Regions from separate parts of the Homo sapiens genome. Here regions 1, 3 and 4 are each linked to region 2. Evidence: promoter capture Hi-C in 16 types of primary human blood cells and fetal thymus (Javierre and others, 2016). All regions are on one chromosome and are shown on one strand. The core of a region is centred on a gene start or on the middle of the fragment in contact, and the rest is flanking DNA. Distances in the headings are between cores, read along the strand shown.

Evidence for each region. The method cuts DNA at HindIII sites, captures the fragments that hold promoters and counts their contacts. A CHiCAGO score of 5 or more calls a contact.
Region 1: a contact is called between a fragment that was not itself captured here and the fragment with the promoter of USF3 in region 2, in 1 of 17 cell types (fetal thymus). The highest score is 5.2, in fetal thymus.
Region 3: a fragment that was not itself captured here is called in contact with the fragment with the promoter of USF3 in region 2 in 2 of 17 cell types (neutrophils and monocytes); the score reaches 5.6 in neutrophils.
Region 4: a contact is called between a fragment that was not itself captured here and the fragment with the promoter of USF3 in region 2, in 1 of 17 cell types (fetal thymus). The highest score is 6.2, in fetal thymus.

What each region holds. Positions count from the first base shown.
Region 1 is chr3:112,982,992-112,989,359 of GRCh38, forward strand. No RefSeq gene overlaps it. Among named protein-coding and RNA genes, the nearest start is that of GTPBP8, 4.8 kb to the right of the region's middle. The HindIII fragment of the contact is 2,477 bases long and covers 3,817-6,293 here.
Region 2 is chr3:113,694,116-113,700,349 of GRCh38, forward strand. It overlaps USF3 (upstream transcription factor family member 3), which reads right to left and starts at 2,527. Exons shown (of 7, transcript NM_001009899.4): 1 at 2,255-2,527. RefSeq lists silencers at 1,858-2,247, 2,268-2,737. The HindIII fragment of the contact is 8,785 bases long and covers 1,589-6,234 here.
Region 3 is chr3:113,048,081-113,054,362 of GRCh38, forward strand. The region is part of intron 1 of NEPRO-AS1 (NEPRO antisense RNA 1); the gene reads left to right. LOLI1 (lncRNA oncogene in liver cancer 1) reads right to left here. Exons shown (of 3, transcript NR_189285.1): 3 at 2,833-3,625. Among named protein-coding and RNA genes, the nearest start is that of RMP64, 32 kb to the left of the region's middle. RefSeq lists an enhancer at 3,444-3,623. The HindIII fragment of the contact is 1,464 bases long and covers 4,246-5,709 here.
Region 4 is chr3:113,002,651-113,008,992 of GRCh38, forward strand. It overlaps RMP64 (ribonuclease MRP subunit p64), which reads right to left. Exons shown (of 9, transcript NM_015412.4): 8 at 5,521-5,780; 9 at 1-3,354. The coding sequence ends at 2,886. Among named protein-coding and RNA genes, the nearest start is that of NEPRO-AS1, 14 kb to the right of the region's middle. The HindIII fragment of the contact is 1,036 bases long and covers 894-1,929 here.

The sequences.
Region 1 (6,368 bases), core at 3,805-6,304, 710 kb before region 2:
AGTAGATAAGATCTTTTTTGATTTAATATTTCTATCTTTTACTTGGCTAAATATGATAAAGCAATGAAACCTGTAAGAAGTAGTGCTCTGCTTCCTAGTCAAAGTATCTTTAATTCTGGAAATTTTCAGCAAATTTCCTCCTTTTACTTCATTTTTTTCAAGTACTCCTATAATATTGTTTGGTTTGCTTTTGTTTTGTGTTGTTTTGTTTTTTGAGACAGAGTTTTGCTCTCTCACCCAGGCTGGAGTGCAGTGGTGTAATCTCAGCTCACTGCAATCTCTGCCACTCAGGCTCAAGAAATTCTCATGCCTCAGCCTCCCAAGTAGTTGGGATTGTGGGCGTGCACCACCATACCTGGCTAATTTTTTGCATTTACAGTAGAGAAAGGGGTTTCATCATGTTAGCCAGGCTGGTCTCCTACTCCTGGCCTCAAATCGATCTGCCCACCTCGGCCTCCCAAAGTGCTGGGATTACAGGACCAAGCCACCATGCCCAACTCTTACAATACTGTTATTTAAATTTCTTCTTTTCACCTTCGCAGCTCTTAACTTTTAAATTCTTTATATTTTTTATCCCTTCCTAATATTTATTGAAATATTCTCCAATCTAATTATCCTGCTATTTTGTTCTTTGAGTTGATAATATTATTCAACTATTAAACACATCCATTGAGAAATTTACTTCACAATAATATAATTCATATCTAATATGTTCAACTGGTACTTCTTAGAAGCTTCCTGTTTCATGTTTGCCATATATTCCCTTATCTCTGAGGATATTTTCTGTTTTTATTTAAATTCTTTGCCCACCAAGTCCATTCATTCTGATTACTTCTAGAATGAATTATCTTTTTCTTACTTTTTCTTCTATTGCTTGTGGGTTCATAATGTGAGTTCGTGAGATTATACTATTATGGTAAAATCAGCTATCTTTTAAAAAAAATCAGCTATCTTGGTAAATAACAGATACCTAGAGAGAGGAGTGAAAGGCTAGGTTCTGACTTGCACTAGTCTAGGCAGAAGAGAGATATATCACAGCATTCTGGGCTCAACCACTCGTGCGCCTGCCACCCATGAGATCCTGCCTATTAGGTAACCACCTAGTACCACTACACCAGGCATTATTCCTTTCTAGAGAGTAATCACAAAACATTGTTTGAATCTGATTGTCCAGCCCCTAGAGGAGGATGGGTAAGGAGGTTGGAGGGAATGTTCAAGGACATTGCTGCACTCAACTCCAGCTAAACCTGATGTTCATACCAGTTGAATCACCAATTCATTGCACTCCTCTCCAGAGGCCCCATACTTTATTACAGGTGGCTGAGACAGCAGCTTTGATTATAACCTCCTTCCACAGGAAGAATTCTAGTTTTGCCATGTCCTATTAAAATGACTAGAGAAAGTCTGTCCCACTTTTCTCAAAAATCTCCAGAGAAATCACTTGTATTTAGAGCAGAACCTGGAATACATCTTTCCTACAAGTATACAATCTCACAATAAGTGCAGGTGAGAAACTTCTCATTTTTAAATGTTTTTATCTTTTAATCTATGTGCAGAAAACAGTTCATATAGCAGGCCTGTGGCTGCTACCCTTAGAAAGATTTGTTTACAAGATTGGCACTGGGCTGACATTTGAGAACTTGACTGGTAAACAGTTTCCTTGCATGGCACAGAGCCAACTTTCCATTCATGAGTGGCTCACTGTATCTAAACTATTTGAACAAACAAGTGGTACATACTGATGCTGCTTTCCTTCTGCAAATCTGAACTTTCAGTGACTATAGTCAGTCACACAGGCACTAGATGCCTATATGAACAGCGCTCGGTAAAAACCCTGGACTCCTAGACTCAGGTGAGCTTTGCTAGTAGACAACATTTCACACATGTTGTTAAAACTCATTGCTGGCAGAATTAATTGCATCCTGTGCAACTTAGGGGACAATTAGAAGCTTGTGCCTGGCTTCCTCCAAACTTCACTTTGAGTGCCTTTTCCCCTTGCCAGGCTTGCTTTGTATTCTTTTGTTGTTGTAAATTATAGGCATAAGTACAACTATATGCTGAGTTCTGTGCATCCTTGCTCGCCTCATTTGGGAGCTAGTCTTGGGAACACCTGACACACTCTACCTATGAATAAGTTAAAAATTTGAATATACATCAATATATCTGCCTGTGAATGTTGCCTCATCTCCTCAGGGTGTTAGAGAACATTCCATTCACTTCCAACAAGGCAACAAGATATAAACTAGATGTGTACTACAAAGTAAACTTGCCCACTAAAATAACCTTGCTTAACACACAACAAGAATTAAAATGTTAACGAATTAATCAGTCAGAACAGCAAAATCCATACTATTTTCCAAAAACAATTTTAAAAAAACCCTCTGAGCTTGTTACTGATATAAAAACACAACCTGAATATGGTAAATAGTGTTCCAAATTATTTTAATAGCACTTGTATGACACAGAGCCAAATGCAAAATTACGAATGAAAAAAATTAAGACCACTTAAAGCAATCATTTCTCCCTCTATTGATAAAAACAACCTTGAAAGAAGTGAACCTTTACTCCTCCTCCAGAATCCAAATCACTCTACAAACTCACCTCCTACCTATGATTACTGTCTGATGGTTAATCTCCAGATCTCTTTAGAGAAATCTGTCAGTGCAGTAGGCACAACCTTAAAAGAAAGCTCAAACAACTTCTCTGAAAAAGAAACAACTTCTCTAAATTTAGATATATTCTCTAAAGACACATTAATCAGATATTTAAAAAGCTCAATGCTTTCATGAGCTCCAAAGACTAAAATCATGGAAAATAGGTCTCTATTGGTTCTTGAATTATAGTAAAATAATAAATCTCAAGAATAATAATTTATGCCCTAATTAAGAAATTAAGCCTGGGCGTGGTGGCTCATGCCTGTAATCCCAACATTTTGGGAGGCTAAGGCAGGATGATTTCTTGAGGCTAGGAGTTCAAAACTGACCTCAGCAACATAGTGAGACTCTGTCTCTCCAAAAAAAAAAAGCACACACACACAAAAAAACTTTGTAAAATTAGCCAAGGGTGGTTGAGTGCCTGTCGTCTCAGCTACTTAGGAGGCTGAGGCAGGAAGATCACTTGAGCCCAGGAGGTTGAGACTACAGTGAGCCATGATTGTGCCCATTCCAGCCTGGGCAACAGAGCGAGACCTTGTCTCTAAAAAAAAAAAGAAAGAAATTAGGTGAACAAATCAAACTTGTTGTGCCACAAATTTGTGTCAATGTGTCAGGTAATATCTAAAGTAAAATTTTAAAATGAATGTTGCACAGAAAACTCAAGAAAAATATAATTAATTGTATTTTAAATTTAAATCATTCATTCAGATAGTAGTCATCACAATTTAAGTAATTTATGTGGAAGTTTCTCCCATATCATGCTCCTTCATATAAAGCCTCTTTCATCTTCCTTTCTCCCAATATTTTCTTCCTAATACAAGAGTTTGATATCCTAATTGGAATGTAACCAGGTCTTTCTCATAGTTTATCAGTACTCAGATAAATTCCTGGCATAGCAGACACCCAATAAATGTTCATTATTGTTGTTAAGACAAGCAGAAAAGTCAGGGTAAGAAAGGTCTAGTGGAAATCAGACACTGAGACCTAATCCATTCCCTCTCTCTATTTCTAGAAGTAAGTTTTGCTAGAGTCCCTGCTCTTGCTTCTGTCAGGACATTCAAACCATGTTTAACTTAGGATGGGAGTTATCTGATGTTCCCAGTGCCCCTACCTATCTAGGCCTACAAAGTTTACCTTCTTCATGTCTTAGATGGATTCCATAAGCTTGAAACCTATAGGACCTGGACATAAATTGGGATCACTCTGGACCTAATGGCCATTCACTATAGAGGCAGACATCGCAGTAAGAACAATTGAGAGGATCCTGTCCTACCTATCTTCCTTCTATTCTTAGCTGAGCATGACAGAGTATAACTATGACATTTAGGGCAGATGAATTTTAGCAATAAAAGCTGATTCTGGGGATGATGTATAAAGTAACGCCTGTCAAAGTCATATTAAATTTTTAAAACCTTGTTAACTTTGTGGTAAACTACCTCCTCGTTATCAAAACAGAAGGCACTTTTTCTCAGAAGGTTGGCCATAAATACATCCTAAGTCAAACTGGGAATAAGCCATGTGATTATCTGGGGTAAGCATTCCAGGGAGAAGTACAAGGACACAGAGGCAGGTGTGTGTATATGGCTTGCTTGAAAAACAGCAAGGAAGCCAGTGTGGCTGGAATGGAGTAGAAAAGGGGAAAAATAACAATAGATGAAGTCAGACAAGAGTGGAAGAAGAAAATGAAAGTTCATGTAGGGCTTTTTAGGTTAGTGCAAGAACTTTTTCTATGAGTGAGACAGGAAGCTCTTGGAGGTTTAGCTTATGTTTTAACAGGATCATGGTTGCTGCCACTGAAATGGGAAAAGTACTCTTGTCCCGCTCGAAGGGCATGTGACAAGGAATGGCTCGCTTCTTCAGGGCCCCACTGCTCAAACCTCTAGGGGAGCATACAGACAGGCAGGTTGTGGGGCTCCGACCCCACGGCAGCATCTAGGGGTGGATGTTTACAGCTCCTGAAGCCTCAGTGGGCATCTGCTACCGTGTGCGCTTTTAGTTTTGTCATCTATAGGCAGCTTGTGTTAACCAGCTAATTAGACCGTCTACCTTGTCACAAGGACAAAGAGTTTTCTATATCCTGGGTTCTTGCCTTGGTGTACTGGAAGAATCGGATCACACATGGGCTTGGAGAATGAGTGCATGGTTTTGACTGGAAGTAGCTCACAGCAGATAGGGGAGCCAGAAGGGAGATGGTTTTCCCCAGGAGTTCAGCCACTCAGCAGCCCTCCAACCGCCCCGGCCAAACTCTGCATCATTCTACTGGTCAATGGCCTGCTGGTGGGCAGCTTGCTCCCCTCGACGTCCTCTTGACATCCAGCAGCTCGTGTCTTCTTCCACCAAGGTGTTCCTCTCAAGGTCCAACCACTTGTGTGTCTGCCTGCTAGGTGTCGGGGTTTTTATAGGCACAGGATGGGGGTGTGGCAGACCTGGGTGGCTTTGGGAAATGCAACATTTGGGCACAAAGCCAGAAGTGCCTGTCCTCACCTAGGTCCGTGGGCACAGGCCGGGGGTGGAGCTCTAGCCAGGGACCTGCCCTTCTCCTCACAATTCCCTGCCCCACTTCCCTGCCCCACTTCCCTATCACCATGTTGCAAATATACTGAAGGGGGCAAAGGGCAAAGGTGGGTGATCAATTTGAAAGCTACTGCAATAATCTAGGTGGGAGATAATGGTGGCTTGTATCAGGGTGGTGGCAGTGGATGTGCTAAAAAGTATCCAATTCAGGATATGTTTTCAAGGTAAAGCCAAGGGGATTGCTAACAACTTGGACTTGGGGTAACAGAAAAAGGAGTCCAGAATTTTCTCCCAAGATTTTCAGCTAAGTCAATTGGAGGAATGGAGGTGCCATTGTCTCTTACAGATTAGGAGACAATTAAAGGATATTAGAAATTCTGTTTTGGACCTAGGAAATGGGAGGCGCATATTAGACAGCAAGATTTTCTAATCTACAGTCCTTCTTTTCCCTACTTGGACTAAAACCCTATTCTGAATCTTAGCCCTGACCTAGTCCTGATCTAGCAGGCTAGATCCTGACTCCCAATCTACACTTATTGGCTAAGCTCCTACTCCACACACAAAAAGACCACCTCGAACCAAGATGCTGCCAACAACAACAGATTCACAGTACTATTGCCAGAACCCAGAAAGTCCTGTCACAACATCCTATCCACCAGACTTGATTCCCTTCAATACTAATTTTGTTTTTATTATTTTTTTAGGGACAGTCTCGTTTTGTTGCCCAGGCTCAAGCGATCCTCCTGCCTTGGCCTCCCAAAGTGCTAGGATTACAGGTGTGAGCCTCTTTTCCTGGGCTTTGATAATTCCCTGTAGACCAGATGATTTCCACTGCAGCCCTACAATGGGGTTATTATAAACTAATTCCTCCCAATTCTAGCCCTCACCTGTCTCACTAGTAGGTCTCACTGCTATGTATGTTTCATATTTGAACTTCTGCAAATTATGAGTTTAATCATGTTGAGGGAAAACATAGTGTATTATTAACTCTAAATCATCCTGAAGTTTTATATGCTTTGTTTACACAGATGCTTTTAAAAGATGAAGTGAAAGAGAAAAAAATATATAAATTGTCAAGTGGTTTTACTAGTCATACTTCTTTCCAGTAGACCGTTTGATCCTTCAAGCTTTGCATGACAAGACAATTTGTTGCAAAAACTGTCCTGTCAAATAATTCTAAAATGATTTGTCCTATCAGGT
Region 2 (6,234 bases), core at 1,277-3,776:
GGTGATGCTCATGTACAGTCTGGATTGAGAACTACTGGACTAGAGAACAGAGAGGTAAAGCATGACAGATATGATTAAGGCTCAAGCTTGATTTAAGACCCTGTTTATAAGCAACAAACTTGAGCTGATTACCTGTTGAAGCTTGTATTCTAACCTGAGTTAAAAATTCTCAGTTTTCTTAGTGTTTCTTTTCCCTTGTTGACAAGGCTAAGCTCTGAAAATAGGAAAAGTACCCATCAATTTCTCATACATGACTGGTTCATTGAGTGTAAGGTCTACAACCTTAGAATTTTACTTCCACGATGTTCCATAGACGACTAACCTAGAAGATAAGTACTTCAATTCTAAGCTGCTCTTACATCCCTGCAATGCACTCCTTTTATATCAGCGAATGTTCTAGGCTGCATCCAGATTTTGCAAAACTCCTAAATACAGGGAGATCCCAATACCTATGTACACCTAAGTCTTTTAGCTTAGACCAGGAGTGTCCAATCTTTTGACCTCCCTGGGGCACACAGGAAGAAGAAATGTCTTGGGCCACCCATCAAATACACTAACACTAACGATAGCTGATGAGCTTAAATAAATAAGTAAATAAATATCACACACAAACATCTCATAATGTTTTAAAAAGTTTACAAATTTGAGGCCGGGCGCAGCGGCTCATGCCTGTAATCCCAGCACTTTCGGAAACAGAGGCAGGCGGATCACCTGAGGTCAGGAGTGCAAGACCAGCCTGGCCAACATGGAGAAACCCTGTCTCTACTTAAAGAAATAAAAATTAGCTGGGCTGGTGGCATGCACCTGTAATCCCAGCTACTCAGGAGGCTGATGCAGGAGAATTGCTTGAACCCAGGAGGCGGAGGTTGCAGTGAACTGAGATAACACCACTGCATTCCAGCCTGGGCGACAGAGTGAGACTCTGTCTCAAAAAAAATAAAAGAAAGTTTACGAACTTGTCTTCTTGTCTTGGGCCGCATTAAAAGCCGTCCTTGGACGGGGGTTGGAAAAGCTTGGCTTAGGCTAAAGCAAAACTGCTTTAGGATTAAGCATTCATTCTTGCATGGATACATTACACTACTTCTGCTTTCAGAAGTGCAATTACAATGTATTTTACTTCTTTTGTAACAAATACTTTGAGTACTTAAAGAGAAACAACACATGTATCCCAAACAGCAACTCTGTACTATGTTAAACAAGAGTTCTATGGGAGAGAAAAAAGTCATCAAGGTGAATGGAGAGTAGGACAGCCTGTTGATCCTTCAAAAGGCAGGTTTGTCTGTTTGGTTTTCTTTACAAAAGAGCAAACCTGGGAATATGTTTCAGGATCCATGTAACTCACCGTAAGATTTATTCAAGAAATCTGTACGTTGTTTATAGGTAAGGAAATGTCTTCTTTGCCTACACAGTTGGCCACGACTGTCTTGATCTGTGTGGTGTTAGGTTACTGTATCTACTTGATGGTAAAAATGTTACAAGAACGGAAGTTGAAATTCTGCACTTTGGTTTATGCAGTCTCATATTTCCAGATAAAGTTAATAAACGCAAAGGACCATATCCCAATGTAACGAGGAGGGTTGGGAGGACAAGCTTCAAGAACGAGTGGGGTGAATTCAACTATCAAAATTGTAAACATGAACAAGAGTCCAGGAATCTTATATTTCATCCGGATACATGAAAGTAGATTTCAAGAGTTGGTCATTCACTTGCACTGCTTCTACTCAGAAAGCAAAAGAACGGCTTCTAAAAAGAAAACACAAGCCTAACACTTCGACAGAGGGGTGAGAGGGAAAAAGCAAGCCACATGAGTCTGACGAACGGGTACGAAAGAAATTCAGAGGGCAAGGAAAGAAGGGGAATGAAGAAGACAGGAAAAGGTGAAGGAGGCGGGCAAAGGCCATCTGGTGTGAACCTGGCTGCCCAGCTCTTTATGCACCCAGGGCAGCGTGGGGCCCCTCTCGCCCCGCGCGCATCTAGGAGCTGGGGCGCAGTGCGAGCCCCCCACGGGCCTGGCAGCCGGGGACGCAGGGCGGGCGGGAGATGAGGGGTGCGCTCGCCGCGGGCGCTGACGCCCCACCAGGTGCCGCACGCAAGGGTCCCCAGGAAGGAGGCGCACTTAGCGCAGCCCTGGCCTCCCGGAGCAGGAAGGGGGTGGGTGGAGCTGAGCCCGGGGCCGCCCTCCGGAGCCGCCCCCGCAGCCCTGGCCCCCGCCCCCCGCCCCGGCTGTCAGCGGCCCCCTCCCGCAGTCACTTACCCGCCGGCTGCGCGGTCTCGGCCGCGGTGGCGGCGGCGACGGCGGCGACCCCCGCCTGGGTCATGATCCCAGGAGGGGAAGGCAGGAGTGTCTGACCGTCTGGGCGAATCTCTCCGTCCGCGGCCACCGCCTGCTCCTCCGGGGCTGGGGGAGCGCGGGCCCAGGCCCTCCTCTCCCCCCGCCCCCGCCGCCTCTTTTTGCGGCCACCGCAGCCGCTGCGAGCCCGAGCCCTCAAGGCCGGAGACCCGGCGGCAGCGCGGCCTCAACTTTCCCAGCCCCCCTCCCCCCGCCCCTCCCCGCCCCTCCCGCGGCCGCAGCTCAGCAAGCGAACAGCCTACCCTGGGCGCGCCGCGTTCCCGCCTCTTTCACTCAACCCGCCAATCAGGCTGCGGGAACGCTGCCGTGGTAGCCAATAAGAAGACAGAATGCCGTTGCACTACGCTAGAGGGCGGGAGGAGGCGGAGAGGAAACCAAGGAGTGAACGGGGATCGGGCGGCCCAATGAGGAGGGCCGGGGGGCGGAGGTGTGCAAGTTGGGTTGAAGAAACAGGAAATATTCTTAAAGGTAGAGTGACGGACAGGAAGGAAAGCCAGTAGGTGAATGGGAAAGAGGTGGGCCTGGTTCCTTAAAGGGGACGCCTTGAGAACCTAGAAAAGAAGGTGTTTTAAGAAACTTCTTTGTATCTTCTTCTGTGGTCTCTTTTCTTCGTCTTTCGGTAGGAGTTTGGAAGTGGAAAAATTGAAAAGGAAGAGGGCACGGAAGTCTTTCGGAATAGTTAGCCCCTCTTAACGTGGAGGGCAGGAAGGTGAGAAGATACGTCTTAGTAAATGTGGAGAAGAAAGAATCAGACGTTTCCGACTTCTCGATAACTGGAAGATTGTTGCTGACTTGACGCTGCTCGCATTCGTAGGCTGTGGTCTCTTGTCATCCTTTATTTGCAACAACACACAGATTTCTGTGAATTGGAGATGGCCATGTTCAGAAATGCCCTGGGGGCCTCCCAGCTGGGACAAGGGAGTTTGGCATTGGGGGATGGGGTTTGAGATCTCAAGCCTGGGTTACTAAATACCTGGATCTAGGAGAGGTAGGGCCAGGGGTCACGAAATGGAGACCTGAGTGCCCCTTAACTCCAGGATCTGTGTGGAGCCCTTGGAACCGTGATCACAACTCCCTCTTCCTAGTTTCGCTTCATATTTTATAACCTCCTGCTGAAACAGGTGTCCTCCACCTAGTTGCGGTTATAGATTTCCAAGCCCTTCCACAACCAGATTTGGAAATATCCCAGATCTTAGATGTCCGTGGGCTAACTTCCAGAAGGTGCACACAGGGCATGGCATAATGGGAATTACTTGAGCCTGTATACAGAAGCAGCAGACATCGCATTGAGCAAAAGGGTAAAGGCTAACAGTAACGGAGTCTTATGTTTGTACAGCAGATTGAAAAGCTATGATGAAACGGAAGGCCTGTAATGTTGCTTATAAACTGTGGTACTAATAAACAGGCTAGAAATTTTCTTTAACTCATCCATCTAGGCACACGAAGTTCTAATTAGCCTTTGAACAGACTTGGCACATCCAAATCAAAACTGCAGATAAGAAAGATTCTACGAGTCAGAGCCATAATAGCAATGCTAATAACATCACCATAAAATTGTATAGTATTGGTATGCTCAGCCATAGGAAACAATTTCCAGTGTGTTCAGAATACAAGGTATTTCTCGTTAACAAATATCATATCCAGGGTGTGCATGATTTCCTAAACAACTGCAATGCATCAATTCTAAAGTAAAAACAAATAGTTTTGATGATTCATGAAACAGAATTTAACCATTCCTTTAGATCACCTTTAAAAAATACACATTAATATATTTCTGGCACGATATAGACGTAGAAAAGAAGAACAATTTCCGTTTGATAAAGATCAGAATATTAGCTTTTTAAATTAATCCTTATTACCTAAGTGTAGCCTAAATCCCAAACAGGGATTTTTCTCTTTTCTTTTCTTTTTCTTTTCCTTTTCTTCCCTTTCCCTTTCCTTTCCTTTCCTTTGTTTTCCTTTCCTTTCCTTTGTTTTCTTTCTTTTCTTTTTTCCTGCGACAGGGTCTCCCTCTGTTGCCAAGGCTGAAGGTCAGTGGCACTGTAACAGCTCACTGCAGCCTCCACCTCCCAAACTCAAGCGATCCTCCCACCTCAGCCTCCCAAGTAGCTGGAACCACATGCCCGGCAATTATTTTTTTCTTTTGGATAGAGATGGGGGTCACATTATGTTGCCCAGGCTGATCTTCAACTCCTGGGCTGAAGCCCAGAGATCTTTTTTTTTTTTGGCTTTACCCATTCAACATCAGTTTCAGATAATCACACCAGTCCTATTTTCAAACTAGCTGGCAGTGCTTACAGTGACCTATATTGGTGGTAAAATATACTGGCCAAGTGAAACTGGTCTATAGGGCTGTTAGTTCATTTTTTTCAAGTGGACAGAGTGAATCTGATTTTCACCCACATTCTTGAGACTTTTCAATGGTGCTGAAAGACTATTTGCATGATATATAAGTACTTCCTTGCATCCCCAGTTTCATATCAAGACCTCCGTTTTTTCCTACTACTGGAGATGAGTGACTGCGGGAGGAGGCTACTGAAAGCCTGGGGCGGCGGCCAGAGCTGCGGGGAGGCCCCGGCCTCAGCTCCACCCACCCCCATCCTGCTCCAGGAGGCAAGAACGCGCAAAGTGAGCCTCCTTCCTAGGGACTACTGTGTGCGGTACCTGGGGGGTGCCAGCGCCCGCGGGGTGCGCACCCCTCTTTTCCCCGCCTGCCCCGCGTCCCCGGCTGCCAGGCCCGTAGATGCGCGCGGGGCGACAGGGCTCCCATGCTGCCCTGAGTGCATAAAGAGCTGGGCAGCCAAGTTTACACCAGGTGACCTTTGCCCGCCTCCTTCACCTTTTCCTGTCTTCTTCACCCCGTCTTCTTTTCTTGCCCTCTGATTCTCTTTCGGAACCACTCGACTCCTGTAGCTTGCTGGGTTTTTTTAGTTTTTCTTGTGTGTTTGTTTTTTGAGACGGAGTCTTGCTCTGTCGCCCAGGCGACTCACTGCAACTTCTGCCTCCCGGATTCAAGCGATTCTCCCGCTTCAGCCTCCTGAGTAGCTGGGATTACAGGAGCACGCTGCCACGCCCGGCTAATTTTTTTGTATTTTTAGTAGAGATGGGGTTTCACCATGTTGGCCAGACTCGTCTCGAACTCCTGACCTCAGGCAATCCGCCTGCCTTGGCCTCCCAAAGTGCTGATTTCAGACGTGAGCCACAGCGCCCGGCCTTTTTTTTTTTTTTAATGGAGTCTCGCTCTCACCCAGGCTGGAGTGCAGTGGCACGATCTCGGCCCACTGCAACCTCCAGCTCCGAGGTTCCAGCGATTCTCCTGCCTCAGCCTCCCGAATAGCTGGGACTACAGGCGTGCGCCACCACACCCAGCTAATTTTTCGTCGTTGTATTATTTATTAGAGACAGGGTTTCACCATAATGGTCAGGTTGGTCTCAAACTCCTGACCTCGTGATCTGCCCACCTCGGCCTCCTAAAGTGCTGGGATTACAGGCGTGAGCCACGGCGCCCGGTCACTTTTTAACTCTCACTTCTCTGTCAAAGTGTTAGGCTTGTATTTTCTCTTTAGAAGCCATTCTTTTGCTTTCTGAATAGAATAAGTGAATGGCCAGCTCTCTTTTTTTAATTATTTTTTTAGAGATAGGGTCTCACCCTGTTGCCCAGGCTGAAGTGCAATGGCATGATCATAGCTCACTGCAACCTCAACTCTTGGGCTCAAGGAATCTGCCTCAGCCTCCCAAGTAGCTAGGACTACAGGCACTTGCCACCACACCTGGCTAATTTAAAAAAAAAAAAAAAAATTGTAGAGACCAGGTCTCACTATGTTCCACAGACTGGTCTTGAACTCCTGGCCTAAAGGGGTCCTCTCTTCTGCCCTCCCAAACGA
Region 3 (6,282 bases), core at 3,728-6,227, 640 kb before region 2:
CATCTCTGAATTCTGATCTCGTTTTACCTCTACCTCTCTTGTGAGCTGCCCATGGTCTGCCTTGTTCTCAAGACATTTACTCTCAGCTCTGTAAGCACCTTCATGCAGGTGATGAATTCATCTTCCATAGTGCTGGCATGTGGGTGCTCAGGGAATACTTGTTGAATAAAAACCAAATGAATTAACTCATGAATAAAAAATCCTTCCTATAGGAACCTATCACTAACCTGGCATTAAGAATTTCTTAATTCAGACTGAGTGCAGTGGCTCACGCCTGTAATCCCAGAACTTTGGGAGGCCGAGGCAGGCAGATCACCTGAGGTCGGGAGTTTGAGACCAGCCTGACCAACATGGAGAAACCCCATATCTACTGAAAATACACAAAAATTAGCCAGGCGTGATGGCGCATGCCTATAATTCCAGCTACTCTGGAGGCTGAGGCAGGAGAATCGCTTGAACCTGGGAGGTAGAGGTTGCGGTGAGCCAAGATCATGCCATTGCACTCCAGCCTGGGCAAAAAGAGCGAAATTCCATCTCAAAAAAATAAAAATTTTAAAAAAAAGAAGAATTTCTTAATTCAAAAAGCACAACAGCTCTAGAGGGCACTGGAACGCATTTGAAAGATCAGTCATACACTGATGCATAATGTGTTAATATCTCATTCTAGTCTCCAAAATTTTTCCTTGATTCTAAGAAGAGTAGTAGTAGATTTTAATTAAAATTGCATGCTTCTACCTGGATATACTTTTTGAGAATTTTCTCATGTTTAGAGCTTAAAAAATAAGCGTATTCTCTTGAAATGTAACTTGTATGCAAAAGTCTTAAGAAGACAGCCTCTCCTAGGGTTTTTATGGTTTTAGGTCTAACGTTTAAGTCTTTAATCCATCTTGAATTAATTTTTGTATAAGGTGTAAGGAAAGGATCCAGTTTCAGCTTTCTACATATGGCTAGCCAGTTTTCCCAGCACCATTTATTAAATAGGGAATCCTTTCCCCATTGCTTGTTTTTCTCAGGTTTGTCAAAGATCAGATAGTTGTAGATACGCAGCGTTATTTCTGAGGGCTCTGTTCTGTTCCATTGATCTATATCTCTGTTTTGGTACCAGTACCATGCTGTTTTGGTTACTGTAGCCTTGTAGTATAGTTTGAAGTCAGGTAGTGTGATGCCTCCAGCTTTGTTCTTTTGGCTTAGGATTGACTTGGCGATGTGGGCTCTTTTTTGGTTCCATATGAACTTTAAAGTAGTTTTTTCCAATTCTGTGAAGAAAGTCATTGGTAGCTTGATGGGGATGGCATTGAATCTATAAATTACCTTGGGCAGTATGGCCATTTTCACGATATTGATTCTTCCTACCCATGAGCATGGAATGTTCTTCCATTTGTTTGTATCCTCTTTTATTTCCTTGAGCAGCGGTTTGTAGTTCTCCTTGAAGAGGTCCTTCACATCCCATGTAAGTTGGATTCCTAGGTATTTTATTCTCTTTGAAGCAATTGTGAATGGGAGTTCACTCATGATTTGGCTCTCTGTTTGTCTGTTATTGGTGTATAAGAATGCTTGTGATTTTTGCACATTGATTTTGTATCCTGAGACTTTGCTGAAGTTGCTTATCAGCTTAAGGAGATTTTGGGCTGAGACAATGGGGTTTTCTAGATATACAATCATGTCATCTTCAAACAGGCATTACCATTCAGGACATAGGCATGGGCAAGGACTTCATGTCTAAAACACCAAAAGCAATGGCAACAAAAGCCAAAATTGACGAATGGGGTCTAATTAAACTAAAGAGCTTCTGCACAGCAAAAGAAACTACCATCAGAGTGAACAGGAAACCTACAAAATGGGAGAAAATTTTCGCAACCTACTCATCTGACAAAGGGCTAATATCCAGAATCTACAATGAACTCAAACAAATTTACAAGAAAAAAACAAACAACCCCATCAAAAAGTGGGCAAAGGATATGAACAGACACTTCTCAAAAGAAGACATTTATGCAGCCAAAAAAACACATGAAAAAATGCTCACCATCACTGGCCATCAAAGAAATGCAAATGAAAACCACAATGAGATACCATCTCACACCAGTTAGAATGGCAATCATTAAAAAGTCAGGAAACAACAGGTGCTGGAGAGGATGTGGAGAAATAGGAACACTTTTACACTGTTGGTGGGACTGTAAACTAGTTCAACCATTGTGGAAGTCAGTGTGGCGATTCCTCAGGGATCTAGAACTAGAAATACCATTTGACCCAGCCATCCCATTACTGGGTATATACCCAAAGGACTATAAATCATGCTGCTATAAAGACACGTGCACATGTATGTTTATTGTGGCACTATTCACAATAGCAAAGACTTGGAACCAACCCAAATGTCCAACAAGGATAGAATGGATTAAGAAAATGTGGCACATATACACCATGGAATACTATGCAGCCATAAAAAATGATGAGTTCATGTCCTTTGTAGGGACATGGATGAAATTGGAAATAATCATTCTCAGTAAACTATCGCAACAAGGACAAAAAACCAAGCACCACATGTTCTCACTCATAGGTGGGAATTGAACAATGAGAACACATGGACACAGGAAGGGGAACATCACACTCTGGGGACTGTTGTGGGGTGGGGGAAAGAGGGAGGGATAGCATTAGGAGATATACCTAATGCTAAATGACGAGTTAATGGGTGCAGCACACCAGCATGGCACATGTATACATATGTAACTAACCTGCACATTGTGCACATGTACCCTAAAACTTAAAGTATAATAATAATAAAATAAAAAAATAAAAAAAGAAGCCTCTCATTTGAATCAAAGACTCAGAAGGCATAAGACTAATACGTTTTATTTAAACTTCTGAAATGAATTTTGGTTTGGAATTAGATCTGAATATATAGGTCTAAACCCTAGTTTAGAGTCTTGAGTGTTTTAAGAATTAGAATTTTCCTGGGTCACATGCTGACTTTCACTTTCTGGAAATGTTTTAAAATGAGCGTACAAGAATTTTATAATGATCTCAAAATACACAAAATGATTGTTCACGAAAAGGAAGAGCAAGTGTGGAGAAATGAGAAACCAGTTCGCAGCAAACAGAAATAAAAAGGGGATGGAATTAAAACTTCTCTTGCTGAGAAATCAGATTCTCATAGAACAACCGTTCCAACTCCATTCATTTAGATGAACTCCGTTCATTTAGATAATAGCTTGAAGTGTAATTATTCCCCGTGGACCTTTGCGCTGACACTTCACAGCATTTGCCTCAGAGATCAGTCGTTATGGCTTGTTCAATACCCGTTTTCTCCACCAGAGGGCAGCAAGAGGCCGCACCAAGATTACTCTCTAAATGAGTCATTCTGGCTTCAGTGAGAAGCCACGTGGAGGAACCTACTACGTTGCAGCCCTCCTCTGCAAACCAAGATCCGCAACCTCAGACAGAATGGAGACAAATCGCCTTATCCCTGGCAGAAGATTTTCAGATAATCGGAGAAACGTCTCACAGGCAAATGCACATGATTTCAAGGCTTGCCCTCTGAAGAAGGAGTCAGTGGTGGTTTTGGACAGGAATGGCATCACTTAAATGTATTTTCAAGGAGCAGAGTCACCTGATGCTGAGAACGGCTAGACTAAAAAAAAAAAAAGAAAGAAAAAAAGTTGATAGGTACTCGAATGTGTTTTATCTGCGTTAAATACGAAATGCCCAAGAATGGGACTTGGAGAAAATGAAATCATTATTTCTACTCTTTGACAGCCTTGAGACAAAATTTCCAAGTCAAATTTATAAGGCCTCGGATTTGGTTGCTTGTTTTGCTTTCTTCTGTCTTGCCAGTTACCTCCTGAGAGTTGGGCAAAGATCAGTAAGATCCCTTTGCTGTGGCTGCCAGCAAGTCTGTGCCTGATTTGACGAGATTCTGAAAAGGTACCAGTGCCTCCTCCCTCCAAGGCCTCTCGTGGAACATAACACCCTAGAACTATGCCAAGAGACAGAGCCAAGCCACATTTCAGTGTCTGCTGCTGCACCAAGCTCTGAGCAGAGGCCATCTTTTCTGCTCAAGAAGTTGTTACTGAATTCTTTCAAGTGCTTGCTTTGGGGACAAAAATGATCAAGAAAGATAGTCTCTGTACAACCAACATTTCCAGGAAACCCATTATTTGTGCATTATCTGTATACTCACAAACACACATAAGCACATGCACACATGCCAAGACACAAAAAGTTTTCAGTTAAGAGAGTCATGTTCCTAAAAGCTTTATCTTTTACACCAGTATTTATTGCTGTCTATCTTCATAAGGTCTACTGTGGGAGATGCTGGCATAGAAAGAACTTTGCCTCAGGAATATACGAGAAAACATAATCAGGGCAGAAAGCAGAGGTATTCAAATAACAAGGTCCTAAAGTGTGTTGCAGCTGATACATGAACTCACATCTAACTCAGGTCAACTCTGGGATAAAAATGAGCATCGAACAGTCTCCTCCCACAAGTATGTAGGCACCATGAGAACAGCAATGTTTAGTTTCTTGTTCCATCCTAAGTGCCCGGAACATTTCTGATGCTCAATTAATGTTTGCCAAATAACAAAAACACTTAGGGAATGTACCATATCAGAGACAAACATACCGTCTCTCAGTAAGTCCCTCCAGCATTAACACAGATTGTGATTTCTTTAGGTTGACACTAGCTGAAGTAGTTGGCTTGGATTTAGGGGCCATGTTGTATGCATCGTTAACAACAATCATATCTAAAGGAGCAAGAAGCTCACCCAGGAGAAGTGTGTGGGCACAGATACTGGTGGAATGAATGGAAGACTCCCATCTAACGCTCTCTCAGGAGGGTTGCTGGATTTAGCAAATAAAAATACAAGGTATTCAGTTACATTTGAATTTCCGATAAATGAGTTTAGCATGGGACAAACTTATATTCAAAAATATTCATTATGTATCTGAAATTCAAAATGAACTTGGCCTCCTGTATTTTACCTGGCAAACCTACCATGGGGCATACACTTTCTGAGTGGAAAGGTGGGAGGATGGTCTGACTTTTTCAATTGTAACCTCTCTTTCTCTCTGGGCACATAGGTTGTATCCTTTTAACTTTAATGTATGAATGCCATTGTAGTATGATAATCACAGTGGATTCCATTTAATCCCATTAAGTGTGCCATCAGAAATCCCAGTATTTTGAAAATGTTCCCTGAGCTTAACGATTTGAGAACCACTAGTGTACAAACTTTAGTAAGCAGCCTTCTTTAATCTGAAGGAAGGGTGTGCCCTATAATCTTCTTCCTCCCCTTCACATTGGGAAATTATTTCTGGGCGGATACCTTTGTTCAAAAGGTTGAAAATAGGCTTAGATGGCACTGTATTTCCTAAGTAACTTCCTGCCAATTATCAACCTCTTCATTATAAAGTGGGTCTAATACCCCACTCAGGGGGTGACGCAGGGGTTCCTAATGGAAGAGTATGGGAAAAAAGGACTCAATTAAGTGATGATAATATGAACTCAACTTTTCCAACACAAATAAGGCTTAGAAAAAGTGATCCCCAGACTTCTGTTCAAAACATCTTGTATTAGTCCTGGACCACAGCCAGTCTTTCCTGAGAACCCACACCTAGCTGTGACTCTAAACAAGTGATGAGTTCCTAGTCACAGTCTTAAAGAGACCAGGTCCGCCTGAGCAGCCCTGTGCTTTATGGGCCAACTCAGCCAGAAGCTTCAATGAATAACCATGATACCTTGAGTGGAGGCAGGAGGAGTGGCCGGAGGCAGAGGAATCCAGCTACTAACCAGGGAAAGGATTCAAATAGATGCTTTTCCATTAGAAAGTCTCTGTTCAAATGACCTCAAGGCTTAAAATTATAGAATTTTGTAAAGAAAATTCTCTTTTGTCACCTATAAGCATTATCACTTTTTATTGAATTATACTATAAACAAATATTGTTTAATTGAATGAGACTAATTAAATCAATGAAAATACAATGTTTACCTTTTCTGGAAACCTTCAGTATATTATATGGCATTTAAGGCATTTTACAAATTAACACCAATCTATCTTTCCAATCTTATTTCCTTCTGCTTCTTTCTGGGACTACTACATTCTAGCCAGAGGTTTCTGCACCTTGGCACTGTTGACATTTTGAAGGGGAGAATTCTTTGTTGTAGGAACTATCCTGTGCATTGTAGGATATTTAGTGGCATCTCTGGCCTCTATCCACTGGATACCAGTAGAACATACCCTCCCCGTGCAAGAGTGTGACAATTTAAAAATGTCTGTAGGCATTGTC
Region 4 (6,342 bases), core at 162-2,661, 690 kb before region 2:
TTTACAGTGTGTGTGTGTGTGTGTGTTCTTTTAATAGATAAAAGTAGAAATCTTAGAGGGCATTCCAGGAACTGGTTATCAGAAGTCAACATGGTAGATTAGCATCCAAGATGGAAGTTACTTTAGCCTCATACTGTGCCTGTGAATTTCTTTGAGGAGGGGATGGGGTGGCCCCACACCTCTTCCAGGTTGTACATACCCAAGTGCTAGGCAGTTCCTGTAGCTGGTGAGAAGCCCAGGGGCAGGAAGTGAGACATCCCCAGAGCAAGAGGCAAGGTTCAGCCCTGCTTGAAACTGGTTGCCACAGCAGTGACTTTAGTATGAAGGCCAAGAGGATTGGAAGTGACACACAGGAGGTCTCAAACACTGCTCTTATAAATGGCCTGTGTGTCCTAATGCCATCAGAAGTGATAAAGTTGGTACTAGGATGTGGGTAATCCCAGCACTTTGGGAGACCAAAGTGGGTGGATCCCTTGAGTCCAGGAGTTTGAGACCAGCCTAAGCAACATGGTGAAACCCTATCTCTACACAAAGTTTTTAAAAAATTAGCCAGGGCATGGTGGTGCCTATAGTGTCAGCTACTCAGGCGGCTGAGGTGGGAGAATAGCTTGAGCCCAGGAGGTGGAGGGTGCAGTGAACTGAGATCATACCACTGTGCTCCAGCCTGGGCAACAGCACAAGACTCTGTCTCAAAAAATAATAATAATAATAATTCACTACGATGACCCTGACAATAGTTTCTAATCTCATTTACTAGGTAAGTTACAGTTTGGTATACTTTAGATTGCATTTTTTTAAATGTTAAATATTTGGATTTATTTGGAAAAAGTAACTGATACAGAATACTGAATTCCTTATAAACATACAAATTGTCATTTTGTGGACACATGTGAAGCTTTTTTGCCATTTTCCCAGAATAGTAAAGGGCAGAAGATGGGAAAATGAGAGGAGATGAAGATACTCCAAAAGAACATGAATGAATTTGGAAACAAATGCTAGACTGGCAGCCCAGTCCATGCTATATTGTCCTTAACTCACTGAACCACCCTGGTTTTTCCAATGAAAGATAAGCTCCAAAGTTTATTTCAGCTATAAAAGTTTCATTCTTGAAAAAATTCCACTTCAAATCCAGAAACCTAAGCCTGAGGAAACTGACTAGCTCAGTGAAGCCACAAGTAGGAGAAGCAAGACTGAACCTTAAATCTCCTAATTCCCAGGGAGTTTTTTTCTGAATCAGCTAAATGAAGTATTAAAAGAGGCTACTTAGGGGACTGGGTGCATGAATATAGACAACTCTCAGCAAATAAGCCCTATGGTCCACAAAGCTATACACCAGTTCTCTTACTAATTTACCTTCTATTTCCCAATAGGTAAAGGATATTCATTGAACACAAGGACACTTAGAAGTTAATGGCCATTTCTAGACTTGTCTAGAATGAAATCTCCTTGGTATTGTCTGTATTTTAAGGCACTAAATGGATACTACCACTTGGTAGAAAGCCAAAAGGAATATGAAAACTGACTACAGATTAAGAATTAAACCAGTTTACTTAAGGCTTCAGGAGAGAAGCTAAAGTAGTGTTTATATAACTGGATTTGGGGGCCACCTGGATCAAAATCACTTGGGCTCCATGTTAAAAATGCAGGTTTCTGGCCCCTGTTTATCAGTCTCTGGGAAAGGGCTAATCTGCATCTTTTAGCAACCCACCAGGTGATTCTCAAAAAGTCTAAAGTTTGAGAACCACTGGTAGAGATAACTGAGAAAATGGAGAAGGCAGACAGGGAAAGAACAAAGCCAAATAAAGAATGGAAGGGAAATAACTTCTGTTATGATAGGGTGGCTGAGGAAAAGAAGGATGCGGTACATACTAAGGTACTACTTTCTTTTTCTTTAAATCTCTATGTAACAAAAGTTAAGGGCACTAGAGAAGCTTAATAACCTAATTCTAGTAAAGTTAGAACATTGGAAAGATACCTACCTCAAACTTCACATCATTATTTGAAAATACTCAAGATGTACTCCCCTCAGAGCAACAGTACGAGCAACATCCCCTATCAGATGACAGCATCAACACCAAATTATAAATGTTCTAGCCTCATTCCTGGGTCTACTTTGTATCTCCTAACCTCATTTTTTCATTTTACTTTCTCATCTACCTGTTATCCTATTATATTTCATATGTAACCATAAACCACCTTATTGCCTTTTTGTAAAAAGGTTTATTTGGAATCAATCACTGGTACCCAAATAAATAAAATTAAAACGTTTTGGAGAACTCCAAACTCACTTTAATATGAGATAAGCCAAGCAAATGAAGAGAAATAATGGTTGTAACCAGTCCCTGGTAATACAAGCAGTGGCAAACCTTGTTGATCAATTCCAACATATAAACAAGAAAACATAAATGTCAGGAGCTACAAACTTTAGTATTCAGAGGCGGACCTATGTATAATGGAGCCAATAAGACCAAATTGACCTTTCAGGTGTTTCCTTGCTATCTCCCACCCCCGCTCCTCATTTACCTCAAGACACAATGGTTTTTGCAAACGATTATTAAATTGCCTAGTAAGTCATAAAATTATTCAGTTTTTCAGAGACTTACTAGCCTCACTCAAGGAATTACATCTGCTTCTCAAGGGTAGGCTGTGGCAGATTTTTCATATTAACACCTGACATGTAGTTGAAGCCAAAAAAGAAATACTTGTTGATGAAATGACACAATGCTACTTTAAATGTAGACTGAACTGAAATGAACTCCTGTGCAATGCTGCACTAAAGCAGCTCCTCTGTGAGTCCAGGTGGTACTTCCAGATCTTAGCAGTTCTACTTAGAACACTGAACTAGCCTTGTTAATCACTTAAAAGTCTCACATATGAACGAACATCTAAACTCCCATTAAAGCAAAAATATCATCAATGTCATCTGTCTCCTTAATGGTTCCTGATGTACTGTTTTTATTTATTTGCATCACCGTCCACGAATCAGTTTCATTTTCATGGATGCCTCTAAGATTTTCATGAATCATTTTCTCCTTAGTTTGTATGACAGGCATTGAAACTCCACTATTCAAGAGCTGCTTACTGTTAGGGTAGAGATCAGTTCTATGCACAGTACAGTGTGAGAGTCTCCACTTAGCACTGGTATCTGTAGCACTCTTCCGAGTCCCTTGAGAGAACTGCTGAATTTCCCTTAAAAGAGTCGACTGCAACTTTCTCTGTGGTTTCCTTTGTCTCCGTAAAAATTTATTCTGTGATCTTCTCTGTCTCAGATGATGCTTTGAAGTTTTGATACCTGAGCCACGAAGAAGGTGGTTGCAAATAGACGTTTTTATGCACTCTAGTTTCTTTGGCAAACTTTAAAAGACAGAGAGAGGAAAAATCTGGGCTTAAGATGAGAAAAACATTCTCAAGCACTTTTAATTTACCAACTGAAAAGAAAAATACACAACTTATCTACAAGTCCTATGCCTGTGTACAATCCCAGAACCACATCGAAAAATTTCACCCCAAGTCTGTTTTTTGAGAGCACAAATGCCCTCTGATTGAAGTGTAGACGAATGTGTCCCCATTTTGCTTTCAAACTCTCAAAAGTACAGCCGCCTAGCAATTAGCTGAATGGCGAGATACCCTATACTTTAGTGTCAGAGCTTTTCCCTCATAACTGCTAATCTGTTCATAATGTAATGAGTGGACATGAGGAAACATCACAAATGAAAAAATCTGCCAGTACGTATTAATCCGAATCTGGATAATCAGCTTCATGCTGTGGCAGGAAATGAACAAGGAAAAAGGAATAAAGGCTAAGAGGGGTTTATAAAACAATATGAAGACAGGGCTTCTGGCCCAGATACACAGACAGCCTTAAGCTACCCTAATTATGATTCATATGTCATCTTCAAGTTTGGAAATTCAGAAATCAAACAGCTGATCATTTTAGGTGTTTTGCTTCCACACACGGTACACTGCCACAAGGTTCATCAGTGCCTTGCTGAATTGTTTCACTGTTTGTGATAGATTTTAAAAGACGGGCATGGATATAAAACTTTGAGGAAGCCCATTATAATAAAGTAAATCATGATCTTTGCTTCCATACCATTTTCTTATCTCACTATAAGCAGTGGCTTTTAAGTGGGGAGAAGGTGGGTGTACTTCAGAGTTGAAAGGAAAACAGAGGGCCTGAACTGAGTTCCACATCTAACCCCTTGAGCAAAATCCTCCATTTACCCATCTATGAAATGGGAATAATACTGTCTACCTCACAATGTTATTATGGACATTAAATAAATTATAAAGTTTACTACAAATATATTAATGAAACAGCAAAACAGGGCAATCTATGAAGGAGCACTATATCTGGGGGAGTACTGAGTAATGGTTTAACCAATAAACACCAGTTTGCTACCCTTCTCATTAACTTTTAGTTGTTACCTCTGCCTCATCTACCCTTGATTTTAAACCCAATTTTAAACAGAATGCTTCTCTCCATCTCAGGCTGCGTCTCCAGCCATAGGATACATCACTTTTAGATTATTACAGACCTTTAGAGGAGCCATCTCAATGTAAAAACCCCTCAAGCACTTTATCCCTCAGGAATATTCAACCACTTTCCCCATAGCTTTTAATCAAAATGTGTTACAAAACCCTCACTGTATACTTTTTTTTTTCTAAAACAGGAATATATTTTATGCAAATTTTAAAAGAAAATTTAACAAATTTTCAATACGTGGTTCATCCCCAGGAATGAACTTTAAATCCCTGAATAGCTCTAAACTATGGATAAGAAATTATGGGGCATGCACAGGATATTTGTTAAAGAATACAATAAAAAACAGGTCAGAATAATTGCCTCTGTGAAGGTGGAATAGGCTCTTAATACATATTTGTGTCTGAAATCATTACCGTTAAGCCCTGAAGTGTCTAATGTCTAAATTCATGTAATACTTCATGCAATACTGGTTCACAAGCAAAGATAAGCACCCTTAAACAGTTGTGAATATAAAAATCACAGAAAAGAAATATAGATAGAGTCCAGCTGCTACAAACAGTAGCAAGTAGCAACAGTACAACACCCCAGCAGTCTTGTGTGGGCCTCATGGAAGGCAGGCACCTTCTGCTTCTGCTCTCATGCCCTTATCCCACTGCACTGCACTGAAGCTGTCTGCAGAAGGGCTGCCTTTCCCAGAAGACCCTGAGCTCCCTGAAGACCAAGTCACGTCTTTATGCAGTTGTATCCTCAGGCTCAGCACACTAGACACTCTTAATGGTTCCTGAATGAGCTGATGGAAATGATGAAGAGCATAACGGGGACTGAAGTCCAATTAACTTGTTTATCTTCTTCCTCCAATGATACAGCTTTGCTCTTACAATAAAAGCAGCAAATGCAATTGCAGTTTGAGTACATCCCAATTTAGCCCCGCTGCGGCTGCTGGACATCACATTTTAAAGAAAAGTGACCTGAATACTTTTACTCATAACAACAACAGAAAAAGTAAAGTAACATAATTTTTGCAATATACCTACCTAGTACCTTGAGCTTCCAGATGTTTAAGCCGGTTGCTTTTAAGAAGTTTGTTACCCAGAAAAATGGCCTGAGCCTTGAGTTTTTTGCTCCTGCACCATACAACTGCCATCTGGATTTCTTCAGAAAGTTGTGTGAAGGACTCAGCCTCTCGGAATCTTTGCACAAAACTTTTGGCATGAGGAGTTCCTATCACTTTCTGAGAAGAATACTTGGTTGTCTTTAGTCTGGATTGAGAACATTTAAAATCAAAACTGGTCTCCTGAAACGTGGAAAGATGAGAAAAATATATTGGACATGTTACTGACTTGTAATTATATGACAACAAGGAAAGCTAGCTCACAATCAAAATTTAAAAATTAGAATTATCAGTCCCTAAATGCTTGAAGTGATGGATACCCCATTTACCCTGTGGTTATTATGCACTATATGCTTATAACAAAATACGTACCCCATAAATATATATACCTGCTACGTACCCACAAAACCTAAAAATTAAAAAAAAAAAATCAGTCTGTAAGGAAATTTTTTTGCTCACTAAGCTTTCCTTATGTCTTTAAAAACTGAATTTTTCTCCACTGCTCCAAATACAAGTTGTTTTGTTCCCCCTCTGTACCAGGACAGGTCCCATCTGCAGCTGAATTAGATTGACATAGGAAAGTTAACATAAATATCCTAACACACATATCTCACATACACAATAAAAAAACCCCACATGATTAAATACTGGTCAAAGCCTAATTGCAGAGGGTTGGGGGATCACTGAAAGGCCCCTCTTCGCTACACCACCAGATTATCACGACTTGTTTTTCACTTATTTCCGT